2 separate regions of the Homo sapiens genome follow, and region 2 is linked to region 1. Evidence: promoter capture Hi-C in human tissues and cell types (Jung and others, 2019). All regions are on one chromosome and are shown on one strand. The core of a region is centred on a gene start or on the middle of the fragment in contact, and the rest is flanking DNA. Distances in the headings are between cores, read along the strand shown.

Region 1 (3,617 bases), core at 706-3,205:
AAAACAAAACTGACCAGGCATGCTGGCTCATGCCTGTAATCCTAGCACTTTGGGAGGCTGAGGTGGGTGGATTACTTGAGGCCAGGAGTTCCAAACCAGCCCGGTCAACATGGTGAAACCCCTTCTCTACTAAAAATACAAAAAAATTAGCTGGGCGTGGTAGTACACGCCTGTAATCCCAGCTACTTGGGAGGCTAAGGCAGGAGAATCGCTTGAACCTGGGAACTGGAGGTTGCAGTGAGGCGAGATCGAGCCACTGGCACTCCAGCCTGGGCAACAGAGTGAGTCTCCGTCTCAAACAAACAAACAAACAAAAACAACCAAACAAAAACTATCCAGGTGGCTTGTGAAAAATCAGCCTTTCCATAATAAGAAAACATTGCCCGTCAGCAGGTAGAGAAAGAAAATATCTGATTGTAGAGGTTTCATTGGACAAACTCGGGCGCCCTTTCAAATGTATATTATTAAATACCTGTTTGAAATTTTCTACAAGGTCCACCTTGTTTTTCCCTGCTGCATGTCACAAGGTCTCCTCTCCCCTAGCTGAGCCATATGAGGCCCCTCCTACTCTGCTGACCACAAAGTAGATTTCAGGGGAAGTTTTAGGCTGTACTTGTGTGTAAAAGAAAGCCTACCATTTTAATGCATTAAAAAAACTGGGGTTTGGTGCTGGCCCCCAGCCTCTGGTTGTGAGCACCCGCTCCTTTACTGCAACGCAGTCCCTATAAATAGCAAAATGTTGTCTGGATGGTGATTGTTTGCTTTGTTTTAAAATTCTGAATCTCTGGTCTTACTTTATCTAATATCAGCAGCCTTAGGTTCAACTGGGACCCTTCGTGCCATCTGTCCCCCTTAGGGGGAGCAGGTTTGCCCATACTGAATGTGCAACGTGCAACACTTCACAGGAAGTACTGGCAAATGGACCAGCGTCCTTCCAGGGGCCTGGTGTTGGCAGCAACTGCCAAGTCACATGGGTGTGGTGGGGATACACGTGTGTTGGGAGGATGGCCTCACGCGCCCCCTCCTAGGCTCTCTCTTTCAGGCAATAAGGTATCCTAAAGAACCAAAGCCACAGGCTTCCATTCGAAGTTAATGTTGGTGGCCCCAGAAAGACAATTCACATGCCCAGTTCCTTGCTTTTTAAAATAAGAGACAGCTTGGGATCTGGGTCGGCAGGCAGTGAGGACAAACCCCCTGCTGAAAGGCTGCTTCAAAGCTCTGTCCAACAAGGCCTCTTTCTCTGTCTGGCAGCTCCCTCGGGACACATAACCTGGTTAGCTGGGGGGTGATTGGGGTCCCGAAGGGATGCATCCTGAACTTCTGTCAAAGCCTGAGCCCTGGGAAGGGCTGGAGCTCTGAGCTGCAGGAAGAGGGGCTAAGATGAACTGAGGGAAGGGCTGTGTCCTGGCTCAGAGGCCTGGGGGTCAGAGGGAGGAAAGAAGGGAATTAAGGGAGGAGGGGAGGGGAAAGAAAGAAGCCTTTTGGGAAAACTCACCCTCCATAGCTTGCATCCCCCGTCGTTCCAGGGACCCCCAGCGTTGGCCCTTCTTCCTCTCACAGCCCTCGGAAGCCTCATAGGAGCCTAGAGTGGTCACTGTGGGTCCTGAGAGCAGGGAGAAAGGAGGGGCTGGGGGGTGGGGGGCTGGCTGCGGGCTGGGGTGCAGAGGAAAGAAGGGGACATGTCTTCCAGCTCCTCGAGGCTCTGGGATCTGTAATCCCAGTGGAGGTGCCTGACTCACTCTGGCGGCTCTGCGACTCCTCTCTCTCGGCCACCTCTCAGCCCTGCCTCCCAGCCTCCTCAGAACCCGCTGTTCCAGGACCCTCTTGCTTGCACAGAAAGAAAGAGGGGGTGTGCGTATTTAGTCCGGGGGGACAGGGAGGAGAGGGCCAAGACTGAAAGAGGGCGGGAGCCAGTGAAGAAGAGGCTGAAAGGCTGAGGTGGCCTACAGATGGAGGGAGGGAGGAGTGGGGGGCGTGCGGGAAGGGGTAGGGCTGCGACCGCTCCCCTCCCCTCTCCTCCCATTCTCTCGCTGGACCTTGCCCACCCCACCCTCGCCCCGCGCTCAGGAGTCTCCGGGGCTGCAGGAGGTGTAGGGTCTGCAGTCCCGAAGGCTGGAAGCACCGTCGGACTGAAGTGGAGAGACGCGCTGGGGAGGGACCACCAGGCAGGATGCGGCCGGTGCGCGGAAGCCTCAGTCCCAGGCCGGAAGGATGGAGACCGGGCCCCGGTGGAGGCCAGGATGGAGGGAGGAAGACTTTGGGCGGAGAAAGGGGAGCCGCGGAGGCCGGGAGCACCTGGGGGTCTGGAAGGAGGAGGGATGGAGGAGAGAAAGGAGGGGCGGTAGACAGGTGACGGAGGGGCGGCTCTGACCTGGGCCCGGGCAGCTCCAGCCCGCGGCTCCCGCGCCGGCTCCGGCGCCCGCCTCCATGACCGCTCCCGCCGCCGCCTTCCGCCTCCCTGAGCAGAAGCCGCAGCCGCGAGCCCGGGGACCCGAGCCGGGTGCGCAGGGAGGGAGGGAGGGCGGACGAGGGGGCGGGGCCTGGCCGGGCCTCCTGACACCGCCCCCCGCCGCTCGCCGCCGCCCGGAAGCCCTCCCAGCACTCGGGAGCTCCGAGCCCGTGCAGGGGGCGGCGCGGGAGGGTGAGCGCGACCCCGGATACGCCCCAAGGCTCTCCCCTAGAGAGCGCGGGGAGCCGCGGGGCCCGGACAGCGTCAGGAGCTCCTAGGCTTATGGCTGCCCCAAGAGGGAGGAGCGAGATCCCCTGGTTCTGGCGGCGGGTCCCCCCGGGGTCTGCTGTGCCCAGGGACCCTTCTGCACCAGGTGTCAGGGCCCGGTCATGCTCAGCAATGGGGACGGCAAAGGACGAGGTGGGACTGTTTCCTCCAAAAGCGCAGACACGCGCGCCCCTCCTTCCCTCCCTCCCCCGCCCGGCCGGCGCCCCCACCTAGCAGTCCGCGCTGACTCCGGCCCCAGGCCCTGCCCACCCCTGCCCGGTGGCCCCTCGGCAGCCTGGGGGCCGGAGGAGGGAAGTCGAGGCCCGGATGGGCGAACGGCAGGGCCCTGACCTCTCCGCTTTCCGCGACCCCCCACCGAGCCAGGGCCAAGGACCCTCTTAGGAGGAGCCCTCCGGTGGCCCCATCAAGCCTCAGGGCCGGAAGACCCCCTCTCCTCCGCCCTGTCTTCCCTTCCGGTCCCACACCCGGTGGGCTGCGAGCCACGCCCCCACAGTAGCCCGCTCAGAGTGGGCACGACTGATGTTCACTCTCGTGGAAGGGAGATTTGGAAGCCCAGGGGGCTTATTTCACGTCTTCAACCATTCGTTTATTCAGGCTATGACTACTGGGTGCCGGCTCTTGAAGAGGCAGTTCTCACATCTCGGCAGGTCTCGGCAAGGATAGAAGTGGGCACAGTTGGGAACAGGGGCTCCCCAGCACATCCAGGAAATGGCTGGAAGATTCCTAAGCCAGGGACACACGCGGATCCCCTCTCTGGCACATCCACTCACAGGTCGAGGGCTAGTATTGTCTGCGTTCCCCCCGCTGCAGGAAAGGGATCCGGATCCAGACCGCAACAGAGGGTTCTTGAATCTCACGCAAGAAAGAATTCAGGGAGGTC
Region 2 (3,163 bases), core at 547-3,046, 310 kb before region 1:
GAGGCTGAGGTGGGAGGATCTCTTGAACCTGAGATGTGGAGGCTGCAGTGAGCCGAGATGGTGCCACTGTACTCTAACCTGGGTGACAGAGTGAGACTCTGTCTCAAAAACAAAAACCAAAAAACAGAAAAACAAAAAACAAAGACAGATTAAAAAAAAAGTAACCCCTACAACTCAACAATAAGAAGACAAATAACCCAATTTAAAAATGGGCAAAAGATCTAAATAGACATTTATCCAAATAAGAGATAAAAATGGCCAAAAAGCAAACGAAAAGATGCTCATCATTAGTCACCAATAATCATCGAGGGGTGAATTTTATGGTTTTCGAGTTAGAGTTCACATAAAAAGCAGCTGTGTAAAATAACATGTATGGAATTATATTTTTAGGACGATGACATGTAAAAATGTAATATACTTGACAATAACAGCACAAAGGAGGCAGGTGGGAGCAAAGCTATATGGGAGTGAGGAAATAACAGCAGATAGGAACTGAAATCCATAGGAAGAAATCAAGAGGAACAGGAAGGGTAAATAAGATTAATATAACTAACTCTATAAATATGTACTTGGTCTTCTTCTCTCAGGTTCTTTCAAAGTAATAATTATAGCCAGGTACAGTGGCTTATGCCTGTAATCCCAGGACTTTGGGAGGTCAAGATGGGCCAGGAGTTCGAGACCAGCCTGGGCAAAATAGTGAGACCTTGTCTCAATTAAAAAAAAATTAAATAAAAATTAAAAAGTAATAATTATAACACCATACTGTTGGATTTATGATACAAAGAAGCAATATGTGTAACAATAATATCACAAAAAGAGGGAGAAAGGAACACCACTATTTAAGAGTAAAGTTTATATATCTCACTGAACTATTTAAAATATAAATGCCTACGTCTGCTGAATCAGAATTTCAGGGAAATGGCCAGACCTTTCTTAGCCCTTACAGTGCCTTTGTGTGAGTTCAAAAAAGCTTCCTTTTCTCCAGTCAAAGGTAGTTCCATGCTAGGGCCAAAGGCTTAGCAAGGAGAGCGTGAGCTGGAACAACCCCCTCACCCTAGTGCAGTGAATAACCTACACAGCTGTCTGAGGGAGGTGGCCCCAGGCATGACCCACATATTTATTTTAAAATGGCTCCTCTAATAATTCTAATGGACAACCAGTGTTGAGAACTACTGGGTTAGGGAAGCATTCAAAAAGAATCTAGTCTAAAGTATCAGAAAACTGATTAAATATGAGAGATAATTGTTAGAGAGGATTTAGAGGGAAGATTTTCAGGTTTTTTAATCCCAGGGACTGAGAAATTGGTAACAGAAATAGAGGAGATGGAAGGAAAAACCTGATTTGGAGGGAATGAATTCACTTTTAATTATTTTGATTTTGGGCCAGGCATGGTGGCTCATGCCTGTAATCCCAGCACTTTGGGAGGCCAAGGTGGGTGGATCACTTGAGGCCAGGAGTTCGAGACCAGCCAGCCCAACATGGCGAAACCCCGTCTCTACTAAAAATACAAAAATTATCCGGGTGTGGCGGTGGTGCACGTCTGTAATCCCAGCTACTCAGGAGGCTAAGGCACAAGAATTGCTTGAACCTGGGAGGTGGAGGTTGCAGTGAGCCAAGATTGGGCCATTGCACTCCAGCCTGGGCGACAAAGCAAGACTGTCTCAAAACAAAAACAAAGGCCGGGCATGGTGGCTCACGCTTGCAATCCCAGCACTTTGGGAGGCCGAGGCAGGCGGATCACGAGGTCAGGAGATCGAGACCATCCTGGCTAACACGGTGAAACCCCATCTCTACTAAAAATACAAAAAAATTAGCAGGGCGTGGTGGCGGGCGCCTGTAGTCCCAGCTACTCGGGAGGCGGAGGCAGGAGAATGGTGTGAACCCAGGAAGCGGAGCTTGCAGTGAGCCGAGATCGTGCCACTGCACTCCAGCCTGGGCGACAGAGCAAGACTCCATCTCAAAAAAAAAAAAACAACAACAAAACAAAAAACCAAAAAAAAAATTATGTTGAATTTGAGGCCATGGCAAGATATTACATTGCAGTTGGAATGCCACACTGAGAACTGAAAGATAGATGGTTCTGAACTCAAAAACTTTGTATTTAGGAAGCACCACATAGCACAGTGATAATGAAAATAGATACCCCATATAAAGAGCCTACTCAGTGCTTTACCCAGTGCTGGACAGTGTGTATAAATACGAGCAGCAGTTGGCATGAGGCTGATGGAAGATGGTCACTCATAAGCAATTATTTACCCTAAAAACACATGTGTTTGGCCAGTGACCTGGACTGGACTGGATGAAGGCCAGGGTCAGAAAGTGAAGTGTGACTGGGAGGATGGAGGTGGCCTGTAAGTGATGCCAGCAGGTGGCTGAGGAGGATGCCACCACTTGAGGTTCCAGGGCACCACCCTGAGATCTTGAAACAGGTGAGGCTCAGTATTATTGTGACAAATGGGTGATAAAAATGACAATGGCTTCCCAAGTTCCACGGCCAGCTGCCATGGGGTCTCATGTGGGACAAACCCCTTTCCGCCCCTCATCCCCACTACAGTGTGTCTGGCATTGACATTCACCAAAACCAGAAGCCTGAGTGTGTTTGTGTCTGGGTTCATTGGACTGGCCCTGGTTGATGAACTGGCTCAAGATTCAAAACTTTTGTGGTTTGGCCCATGGATACTTTCCTGCAGAAAAAAAAAAAAAAGGCCAGAGCTTTGCACAGTGGCAGTATTGTAGCCGATGAGGTTTATCCAAGGCATGATTATTGCTAATTGAAATTCAAAAAAAGCTGGGGGGAGAAAAAGGCCAGCATGAAGAAAAAGAGGAAGGTACAGAATGATTGGAATTGGCAGGTTATTGGAGGAGGGGCACACAGCAAGTCCCACCCCATAGCATAAAGGACACTTAACTGTATGGGCATACACACAGCTATAGTTGTCCCCATGGGCCTCAGTGCTGTGGACAGGCCCAGCCAGTCTCAGGGCTTGGCCAGACTGGTGAGCAGGTGTAGACAGGTAGCCAGCCTACATTTGTGCCATACCACAAGTCTACCATTTCTGTAAGGCCACCTCCTAGGGCATCTGAGCTGGTTGATAGCATCATTATGCTCAAGCCACCCTGGAAGTTTGCGCATAGGTCAAATCCAGAGCCAGGAAACCGAATG

The links. Contacts are between HindIII fragments. The study calls those that stand out against the background at their distance.
Region 2: a contact is called between a fragment that was not itself captured here and the fragment with the promoter of CCDC136 in region 1, in 1 of the 25 tissues and cell types used here (lymphoblastoid cells).

The regions. Positions count from the first base shown.
Region 1 is chr7:128,790,306-128,793,922 of GRCh38, reverse strand. CCDC136 (coiled-coil domain containing 136) reads right to left here and starts at 1,955. Exons shown (of 18, transcript NM_022742.5): 1 at 1,496-1,955. The coding sequence starts at 1,511. RefSeq lists silencers at 2,572-2,840, 2,379-2,848. The HindIII fragment of the contact is 16,505 bases long and covers 1-3,617 here.
Region 2 is chr7:129,103,248-129,106,410 of GRCh38, reverse strand. LOC124901863 (U4 spliceosomal RNA) reads left to right here and starts at 2,711; the gene lies at 2,711-2,856. The HindIII fragment of the contact is 8,145 bases long and covers 1-3,163 here.